3 separate regions of the Homo sapiens genome follow, and regions 1 and 2 are each linked to region 3. The links are contacts of gene promoters, found by promoter capture Hi-C in blood cells and fetal thymus (Javierre and others, 2016). All regions are on one chromosome and are shown on one strand. Each heading gives the region's core, a stretch centred on a gene start or on the middle of the fragment in contact. The rest is flanking DNA. Distances are from core to core; before and after follow the strand shown. Region 1 has its middle 4.1 kb from the start of MIR1255B1. Region 2 overlaps LOC105374399 (a long non-coding RNA gene). Region 3 holds the start of NWD2 (NACHT and WD repeat domain containing 2).

Region 1 (3,472 bases), core at 323-2,822, 810 kb after region 3:
CATGCTGTGTGTTTTCTGACTGCTCCATGAACCAGCCATTTCCCAATCTATCTCTTTGTTCTCAGGCTTCCCTATTTCCTGAGACACAACAATATTAAAATTAGGCCAATTAATAATCCTACGATGGCAGAGAAAGTGAGAAAGAGTTGCATGTCTCTCACTTCAAATCAAAAGCTAGAAGGACGTGTCAAATTTGAGGTAAGCCAAAAGCTAGGCCTCTAGCTTTTGTCTTTGCTATTGTGAATAGTGCTGCAAGGAACATATGCGTGCATGTATCTTTATGGTGGAATAATTTATATTCCTCTGGGTATATACTCAATAATGGGATTGCTAGGTAGAATGATATTTCTGTTTCGAGTTCTTCGAGGAATTGCCATACTGCTTTCCACAATGGTTAAACTAATTCACATTCTCACAAGCAGTGTATAAGTGTTCCCTTTTCTTTGTAAGGTTGACACCATCTGTTACTTTTTGACTTTTTAGTATAGCCTTTCTGACTGGTGTGAGATAGCATCTCATGGTGGTTTTGATTTGCATTTCTCTAATGACTATGATGTTGAGCATTTTTTCATGTGCTTGTTGGCCACATGTATGTCTTCTTTTGGAAAGAGTCTGTTCAAGTCCTTTGCCCACTATTTAATGGGGTTGTTTGTGTTTTGCTTGTAAATTTGTGTCTTTATAAATTCTGGTTATTGAACCTTTGTCAGATTGCAATATTTGCAATTTGCAAATATTTCCCCCATTCTATAGGTTGTCTGTTTATTCTGTTGATAGTTTGTTTTGCTGTGAAACAGCTCTTAAGCTTAATTAGATCCCATTTGTCAATTTTGTTGTTGTTGTTGTTGTTTCAGTTGCTTTTGGAGTCTTTGTCATGAAATCTTTACCAAGTCTTGTGTCCAGAATGATATTTCCTAGGTTATCTTTCAAGGTTTTTATATTTATACATTTTACATTTAAGTCTTTAATCTATCTTGAATTGATTTTTGTAAGGAAGGGGTTCAGGATTAATCTTCCATATGGGTAGCCACTTATCCCAGCACCACTTATTGACTTATTAAATAGGGAATTATTTATTTCTCCATTGCTTGTTTTTTGTTTGTTTGTTTGTTTGTATTCTGAGACAGAGTCTCACTCTGTCGCCCAGGCTGGAGTGCACTGGTGCGATATCTGCAACCTCCACCTCCCAGGTTCAAGCGATTCTCTTGCCTCAGCCTCCCGAGTAGCTGGGACCACAGGCGTGCATCACCACACCCGGCTAATTTTTTATATTTTTAGTAGAGATGGGGTTTCTTCTTGTTAGCCAGGATGGTCTCGATCTCCTGATCTTGTGATCCACCTGCCTCTGCCTCCCAAAGTGCTGGGATTACATGTGTAAGCCACCATGCCCAGCCCCCCTTGCTTGTTTTTGTCAGCTTTGTCAAAGATCAGGTGGTTGTAGGTGTGCAACATTATTTCTGGACTCTATTATGTTCCATTGGTGCATATGTTTGTTTTGGTACTAGTATCATGCTGTTTGCGTTACTGTAGCTTTGTAGTAGGGTTTGAAGTTGTGTAATGGGTTGCCTCCAGCTTTGTTCTTTTTTCTCAGGATTGCCTTGGCTATTCAAGCTGTATTTGGTTCCATTTGAATTTGAAAATAGTTTCTCTAGTTCTGTGAAAAACATAATTGGTAGTTTGATAGGAATAGCATTTTATGTGTAAATTGCTTTGGGCAGTATGGCCATGTTAACAACATTTATTCTTCCTATCCATGATCATGGAATGTTTTTCCATTTGTGTGATTATCTCTAATTTCTTTGAGCAGTGTTTTGTAATTCTCATTGTAGAGAATTAATGCCTTCCTGATTAGCTGTACTCCTAGGTATCTTATTCTTTCTGTGGCAGTTGTGAATGGGATTGCATTCCTGATTTGTCCCTCAGCTTGGATGTTGTTTGTGAATAGGAATTCTACTAATTCGCATACACTGATTTTGTATCCAGAAACTGCTGAAGTTGCTTCTTAGATCACAGAGCGTTTGGGCAGAGACTATGGGGTTTTCTAGATATAGGATCTTACTGTCTGCAAACAGGGATAGCTTGACTTCCTCTCTTCCTATTTGGATGCCTTTTATTTCTTTCTCTTGACTGATTGCTCTGGCCAGGACTTCTAATACTATATTGAATAGGAGTGGTGAGAGAGGACATCCTTGTTTTGTGCCTGGTTTCAAGGGGAATTCTTGCAGATTTTGCCTGTTCAGTATGATATTAGGTGTGGGTTTGTCATTGGTGGCTTTTATTATTTTGATGTATGTTCATTCCCTAGTTTTTAACATGAAGGAATGTTAAATTTTATCAAAAGCTTTTTCTGCATCTGTCGAGATGCTCGTGTGTTTTTTGGCTTTAGTTATGTTTATGTGATGAATCACACTTATTGATTTGTGTATGTTGTGCCTCAACCTTGCATCCCAGGGATAATGCCTACTAGAGTGTGGTAGATTAGCTTTTTGACGTGCTGCTGGATTTGGTTTACTAGTATTTTGTGGAGGATTTTTGTAGCTATGTTCATCAAGGATATTTACCTTAAGTTTTTGTTGTTGTTGTTGTTTTTGTGTGTCTGCCAGATTTTTATATCAGGATGATGCTGGCACCTTAGAATGAGCTTAGGAGGGACAAGTCCCTCCTTCTCAAACTTTTGGAATAATTTCAGTAGGAATGATACAATCTCTTCTTCTTATATCTGGTAGAATTCAACTGCGAATGTGTCTAATCCTGGGCTTTTTTTGTTATTGGTGGTAGGCTTTTTATTACTGATTCAATTTTGGAACTTGTTATTGGTCTGTTCAGGGATTCAATTTTTTCCTGGTTCAATCTTGGGAGGTTGTATGTGTCCAAAAATTTACCTATTTTTTATAGGTTTTGTAGTTTGGATAGAGCTTTTCATAGTAGTCTCTGGCGGTTTTTTGTAGTTCTATGAAGTCAGTGGTAACATCTCCTTTATCATTTCTAATTGTGTTTATTTGGATCTTCTCTGTTTTTTACCTTATCAGTCTAGCCAGTAGTCTATCTCCCTTATGAATTTTTTCAAAGAACCAACTCCTGGATTTGTTGATCTTTTGTATGGTTTTTGTATCTCAATTTCCTTCAGTTCAGTTCTGATATTGGTTATTTCTTGTCTTTCAATAGATTGAAGTCGATCTGCTCTGGCTACTCTAGTTTTTCTAGTTGTGATGTTAGGTTGTTCATTTGAGATCTAACATTTTGATGTGGGTGTTTAGTGCTATAAGCTTCCCTCCTAACACTGCGTTAGGTGTGTCCCAGAGATTTTGGTATGTTGTATCTTTATTCTCATCATTTTCGAAGATTTCTTGATTTCTGCCCTAATTTCATTATTTACCCAAAAGTCATTCAGGAGCAGGCTGTTTAATTTTTGTATAATTGTATGATTTTGAATGACTTTCTAGTATTCATTTCTATTTTTATTGTACTGTGTTCC
Region 2 (3,530 bases), core at 135-2,634, 880 kb after region 3:
ACATCTAACCTTGAACTGGCATTACTCACCCTTGTTATTGATTTTTGCAGCCAAAGATAATTATTTAAAAACAATTATCTAATTCTCATTAATTTCTTTTAAAAACTTTTGTCTTCCTTTACCTCCTTGGATATGCACATAGTGTACTACAGCATGCATATCCCTATTCTAATACTCTATTCCCAAATGAACATCTTTTCTCTTAGGAAACCTCTCTCTGTTATTTAGGTTGACAGCCCTAATATAGCCAAATAACTACATTCCCAGTTTGGCTGGCAAACAGAGTACTATGGAAGCCCCCAGCTTCAAACTAATGAATAGAGACTTTCCCACTGATGCTTCCAAATGGTGCATGGAAGGTTTAAATTTTCATCTGTTACTGTCACTCATGATGCAAATGTCACTGCAGGTAGGCTTTTGACTTTTCACTTGCCAAGGAAAGTATCTTTGCAGAGTCCAGGAAGAGATGGATGTGTTTTCAAGCAAGTCTCCTATGTTCACTTGTCAGATTAATGAACAAAGCAGATATTTCAACTAACAAAAGAGTGGGCATCCTTCTCTGAAGCAAGGACCACAATCCATCAGTCTAATGCTTCTGCCAGGGCTCAGGGAGAGGCATCCTCCTGTTCTTATTTACTTGGCCTCAGCATCGATCCAGGTGCTTTCTATTGGATAGAAATCATTCAATCATAATGCCCTTTAGAGTCAGCCTTAAGTTCCCTGTACTTTAACTCCCAATTTGTATGAAAAGCTTATCCGGATATGACATTTCTTATAAAAGCATTGACATTTAGTTTTTCTGCTCTTCAAATTTTTTTTTTCTTGAAACCTTGGCAGACACTAATTGCACTTCTGATCTATTTTCAGAAAACTGAAATAGAGAGCTGTGCTCTTATTTGATGCCCATGCTTTGTAGAGGCCCTTCTCTACCTTTTCTCCCTGGTAGATTTATGGTGCTTGACTCACATTCATTCCATGTACATGATCTACTTGATGCAAAAAGCAACCCTACCTTCATTTTTACCCACAGCACACCTTGTACCTATCTCTGTCCTAGCACTTGACACTTGGAGCATATAATTCTCCCACACAAGTATGATCTTCTTGAGAACAAAAACTGACTTATTTATCTCTGTATGCTTGATAACAGTAGATGCTCAATAAAATGTTTGCTGATTAGTGTGATGAATGGATAAAGACATAGATGGGCAGAAGGAAGGAAACTGCATGTATCAGAGTCAAATCGCTCTCAGCATGAAGACAGAGGAGGAGAAATCTGATTTGCCCCAGGCCCCAGAGAAGCAAAATTAATGAAACATTTATCTAATTCTCAATATAGCTGATTAGTGATGCAATGCAGGGGTTACCTACTAATTAGTCTTCTAGAAACACTCCTTATAAGTAGAAATTCTGAAAACCTTTTGACTAGTTGTAACTAGTTGATAATCACAGTACCATCTTTCTCAGCCAGGAATAATCAGGGTGGCACATAAGGTGAGATGGGGAGGTAATTGATTGACTTTCTTCCCACTCAGTCTGAGTTTGAATAAACTCAGTTGGTGAGACATATATTGGCATATATGATAAGTCAAAAGTGATTCAGAGATTTCCCAGAAATCAGGATAACTAGGAAGCCTTTTTTTAAAATTTGAGGGATTGCCTTTTGGCCTCTCTGCTTCCAATAAATTCTAAGCTGTAAAATGAAACTTTTTACTTCCCTATGTTCATCTGAATTTATTTTCTTTTTCCCTTATAAATGATAGTAATCATTATTTACTCATAATTTTTACCTAAAAACTGAGTTTCAGCTAGTCTCAAAAAGGCTTTTGCTGAAAATATATGAAAAACCACCCAAAAGAGCAACCTCACAAATAGGAAAATTGATGAACCTTCTTATGGTTGGAACTGAGAGAGGCCAGGAAGGTCCCATGCCAACCTCACCACCTACCACATGTCAAAATGTTTACATTTGCACATGGAAGTGTATACATTTCCATATTACATTTTTCAAGCTTTTGGAGGCCCTTCATGGGAGTGATAACACTTGCTAGTGTCAAATAGTCTTCGAATTGAGTTTGCCAGGTATGTGACACATGGGCTGTCATGCCATCTTCATTCTCCCTCCTTCTCCTACAGGCTGATCTTAGCATTCAAAGCCTCAGATTCCTCAGGACAGATTTCCAGGCAGCTGTCAGCAAGGGATTGAAATTGGCCTGCAAAATGATACCTGTTTGCTCTCCCAGCTCTAAGGAGACTTACTGACAGCTGGCAAATATCAAGAAATTCACCTATCTTGATCTCAGTATAAGGTGATGTAAGTGATCATGGAAAAAATCCCTGTGGTAATTCTGTGATTATCAGTAATCAAAATGTTAGAATGACTCTAAAGGAAAAGATAGTAATCTGGATGGCTCAACACTTGAGGGAAATGAGTGACATAAGGTTTTTTTTTAAAATGTATAAGGAAGTGTTATTTATACTTATTATACTTATTATACAATAAGAAATCTTCATCCTAATTGACTTTGTGTATAATTACTCCATATCCATTTTGAATATTGTCAAGCAGGACCCCAAGAGAAAGAAAGAAAGATAGGCGTTTGGTTTTCCCTCAGGAAGTGTTCAGTCTGAGGGAGAGTTATGTTGTTGAGCTAAGGAAGCATACAGAATCATCAAGCAATTGAATGAGTACAAACCCAGGACAGAGAGATCACAATTTTGTCTGTGAGATAAGCTGGGAAATAGCATGGTATAGTATAGTCACTTAACTGTTTTAATTCGGTGTTTCCCAAATCTCACTTATTCTTAAACCATCTTTACAGTTTTTTAGCCATTTCCACATACTACTGGTATAATTATTTAAATGATATTTAAAAATCAACTTGTTGACTTTTAAATAATCTTTTTATTTTAGAATTTTTTTTGTCTTAAAGAAAAATTGTGAAGATAGTACAGAGAGTTCCTACATACCTCACACTCAATTTTTCTTATTATTAACATCTGGTGTCAGGAGAGTGCCTTTACCATGATTAATGACTCAAGACTGATACATTATTATTAACTAAAGGCCATAGTTTACTTATAATTCCTTAGTTTTTTATTTAACTAATAAAAACATTACTTTTGCCATTACTTTTAATGGCAAAAACCACAATTACTTTTGCACCAACTAGTATTTTATATCCTTTTTATCTTCTAGGATCCCATCCAGAATACACAGTACATTTAGTCATCATGTCTGCCTAGGATCCTCTTAGCTGTGACTAAGTCTTTCTTTGTTTTTGATGACCTTGACAGTTTGGGAGAGTATGGGTCAGGTATTTTGTAGAGTGTTTCTTAACTGGAATTTGTCTAATGTTTTTCTCATGATTAGACGGGGTTATAAGTTTTGTGAGGAAGACCACCGAGGTAAAGTTCCCTTCTGGTCACATCCTATCAGGATTACACACTGTCTAGATGAGTTATCTCCGTTGATGTTAGCTTATTTATTTTTCACTTCAGCCTCACTTCAGAAGTCAGGATCAGATCAC
Region 3 (3,662 bases), core at 63-2,562:
TCTTTCCTTCCCCAACTCCCCAATTACTGGGAATGAAATCTAACGTTGAGGACTAAGGACTGGAAGGTAGTGATGAGCCAGGATTTGACCGCCCAGCGTTCAACCTCTGTGGTTGTGAATGCAACAAGAAATCAACAAGTTTTCATGGAGTGCCTACCAGGTGCCTTAAGCAGGAACATGACTGAGTAGGCCAAGTTTTAGATACAGAAGACCAAGCCCTGTGACCCAACTGAGATGAGCCCATCCTGCGCGCCCCACCGCGAAGCCTGTTCCGGGACCCACAGAGGGTGTCCCCCTCGACCTCCGGTTCACAAAAGTCTGCTTGGCCTCTGCAAAGGGCACCATCGCACCTGCAGGAGGAGAGTCTCAAGGAACTCACCTCGCCTCAGCTGGAAAAAGTGGCCAAGGAGGTAGCCCCGCACTCAGGAACCCGCCTCGGGGAGGAGAGCTACTGTTTGTGTTTGCGGTCATCTCGGAGAAGAAACCGCTTTAAAAAAAAAAAAAAGGGCGGGGGACAGGAGGTGGTGGTGGCGGCGGCGGCAGAATGGAGCTTCCAGAAGGGCCGGCTAATGCCTTGGATGTTTCTTGGATTGACCCAGGGGAATAACCCGGGGTGGAGAATGGGTGTCCTAATAGAAGTGTGCAGGCAAAACCGGCCAGCGAGGGGAGAAAAAAAGTGATTCAAATTAAATTCCCACGCGCTCAGGGCGGCCACGGCTTTAGCTGGAGGAAGGGAGCGCAGGGCGCACCGGGCTGTGGGGCGGACACACACTCTCCAGCTCCCGCAGCGCTGACGGACAGAAGGACGGACGGGCAAACCCGAGCGAGGGACGTACCTTCAGGGTTGGCGCTGATGAAGACCCGGACGCTGCGGCCGGCGGGCACGAGGTGAGAGGGCAGGGCCGTGAGGTTCCCAGAGAAAGCCGCCCGCCGGAGCGCAGAGTCTCGGGGACAGGGCAGCTTGGTGCCCGCGCCGGCCGGCCACATCGCCCTCTGGGAGGAACAGCCACTGCCGCCGCCGCCACCTCCTGCTCCTCGGGTTCCTGCCCGCAGCTCCACGGAACGGCTCAGCAGGCGGTCGATCTCAGCAGGCGGCGCGGCTCAGAGCCGCTCCGAGCCCGAAGCGCCTTTGGCGAGCTCCGTGGCGCACAGCACCCGCCGGCGAGGAGAAGCCATACGGACCCTCGGGCTCCTGTCGCGGCGGTCTCCTGCCCTTCTGGGCCTCCGCCTTCGCCCGCTGCTAGGGCTCCGAGCAGCAGCCAGCTGGAGCGGGAGGTCAGCGTGGCGGCGGCTACGCGCGCAGCGCCCGTTTGCGCCGGGAAGCGCCGGCGGCCATCTCCCCGCCCGCGCCCGCCGTGGGAGGAGGGGGCCGCCAGGCGGCAGGGACCGTGCGAGCGAGGAGAGCAGATGAAACTTTATGTACCAGAAGGCGTCCCGACTTTATCCGAGCCCGCCTCTCTCGGGCGCAGAAATAACTTGCGGCTTAGAGGACGGCCGGGGCTTGGGCGCGGGGGCCTCGGGGGTGCGCAGGAGCCTCCTGGACTCCTCTGTGGACAGCCGAGGGCTCCTGTCTGCCTCCGTGGTGGAGGACAAGAAATCAATTAGCCTGAGATTTCTACTACGCCCCCTCCAACTCTCCTAAAGGTCACACAAGCCCTGAGAATTTTCGGGAATCCACACGCTCGGGCGTCTGTGCGTCTCTGCCCAAGTGCAGGGAATCCAGCCTCAAAGTTCGACGCACACAACCCCAAGCCAGACCCGGAGAGTTTAAAGCATCAAGTCTCCAGATTGTCTCTGGCGTCCTGGAGGGACGATCGCTTCATCCCTATCTCTCCTGGCGCAGGTGGCAGCGTCCTGCCGCTCCGGTTGCTCCCCACGCGCGCTTGAGCGGGGTTTTTATAGCCAAGCTGCGCCGTTCACGTGCTCCTCGCCGCGTGGTCCCGGAACCTTTCTGGGAGCGGATCTCCGCGGGTAGTTCCTCCGAGGCCTCCAAGGTTCCTAGGGGCCTTTCTGCTCCCATCAAGGCGCACTCACCGGCTGTTCTGCTCGCCTGACAGCTCCCGGGCCCGTCGGCCGCCAGGTTGCTGGAGCCCCGCGCGGCCGGGTGCGCACCTGGGCCGGGCGGGAGGGTGTGGGTTCTCTGGAGCGCCCCCCAGCGCAACGTTACGCAAAGTGCAGGTGGCCGTGGATTGGGACCGGGGTGCGAGAAATCGGAGCTGGCTGTGGGCAGCAGCTTCTTGTGTGCGCTTCAGCCGCTCTTCAAAGTCAGTGCAACGCGTAGGTCAGCTCCACCTGAAGTTGATCCAGGGCGGCCACAGAGGACGCGGGGCCGTCCTCGGGTTCCGGGCTCAAGGTGGACGGCGCAGGGGTCCAGTCCACGTCCTAGGTGACATGAGACGCAGAGGGACCCAGATGTAAAATCGCCGTCTCCCTTCCACTCCACTGCACCCATGGAAATACTGCATAAGCCAGGACAGGAACGAAGACCTCGCAAAATAAAGTGTAATTGTGTTGGGGGCCAACGGCGCAGGGAGAAGGGAGTGTTTGTAGCCTTAATTGCAGTTTAGTCAATAAATCACTTATTCTGGGCTTCTGGGCAGGAACACCTGTCTTTTAGGGAAGAAGAACAGTTTTTCCAAATCTCTGAGATTGGGGAAGGGGTGGGCGGGCACAGGGTGAGGCAGTTCAGACGCAAGTGTTCTCTTCTTGCCTGGATGGTCCTAACCTAAGCAGCCCGGCCTCCTCTGGGCCTGCACTTCCTCTGGGGCCTGCTGGTGGCAGTGAAGTCCTATGCACTGCTGTTCATTTTTTTACCCCACCCCAGCCCCAACACACACGTTCTGGGGTAACCTCTTTGGAAGAATTGGGTCTCTAGGTTTGTAAGGCTGCCTCTCCACTCCTGAGAACCAGGGGGCAGACAGCAGCAGTTCTTACTTTGTGATAATTTGATGCAACCCGTAAAGAAGGCTTGAACATACCCAGTTATTTAATTGATTCAATTTCTTCACTCCAGAGTCATTCTCGGGTGGAAATGTTCTCAGCAGGAAGGGGGTCCCTGAAAGATCCTCTATTGTCTCAAGAGGTATGGACTGAGAGCTGTGGAAAGGTCATGAATATGCGGTATTTATTGCATATCATCGTGTATGAATATACAGTATCTATTACTGGAGAAAAGAGCTAGGATCACTTTATGCCTGATCTCAATATTGTTTATAAAAGAGTGATTAGAAGTTGCCAGATTGTCAGGGACCTGCCTTCCTGCCTTTCTTTTTTCTCTTACTTCTTTGTTTGTTTCTCTCTTCTCAGAAATAGGATTAGTGTTTGTGTCTTCTGACCTTTGCTTCAGATCTCAAAGTGTTGCATTTTCTTTGGATGACTTTGGGATTTTTGGCAGCCTCTATAACCTAATTAACTGTTCTAGACAGGCCGAAGTTTAGCATCTGCCAGTGTCACTGCAGACCAAGGCTGCAGAGGAGAGAGAATTTCACATTGTCTGTGGGCCACGCTGTAAAAGGCTCTTTGCACAGCCAGCTTTGCCTCAGCTAGAGAGGCTGCTGTCTTTGGAGTATTCTACCTAAGAAGGATACCAATTACTCACCTCCCTCAAAACACACACACATACACACACACACACACACACACACACACACACACGCATGTAC

What was found. The method cuts DNA at HindIII sites, captures the fragments that hold promoters and counts their contacts. A CHiCAGO score of 5 or more calls a contact.
Region 1: a contact is called between a fragment that was not itself captured here and the fragment with the promoter of NWD2 in region 3, in 1 of 17 cell types (M0 macrophages). The highest score is 5.6, in M0 macrophages.
Region 2: a fragment that was not itself captured here is called in contact with the fragment with the promoter of NWD2 in region 3 in 1 of 17 cell types (endothelial precursors); the score reaches 5.4 in endothelial precursors.

What each region holds. Positions count from the first base shown.
Region 1 is chr4:36,428,764-36,432,235 of GRCh38, reverse strand. No RefSeq gene overlaps it. Among named protein-coding and RNA genes, the nearest start is that of MIR1255B1, 4.1 kb to the right of the region's middle. The HindIII fragment of the contact is 1,536 bases long and covers 805-2,340 here.
Region 2 is chr4:36,362,957-36,366,486 of GRCh38, reverse strand. LOC105374399 (a long non-coding RNA gene) reads right to left here. Exons shown (of 3, transcript XR_925195.3): 3 at 73-665. Among named protein-coding and RNA genes, the nearest start is that of MIR1255B1, 62 kb to the left of the region's middle. The HindIII fragment of the contact is 1,261 bases long and covers 754-2,014 here.
Region 3 is chr4:37,242,393-37,246,054 of GRCh38, reverse strand. It overlaps NWD2 (NACHT and WD repeat domain containing 2), which reads right to left and starts at 1,312. Exons shown (of 7, transcript NM_001144990.2): 1 at 837-1,312. The coding sequence starts at 987. The HindIII fragment of the contact is 7,136 bases long and covers 1-3,662 here.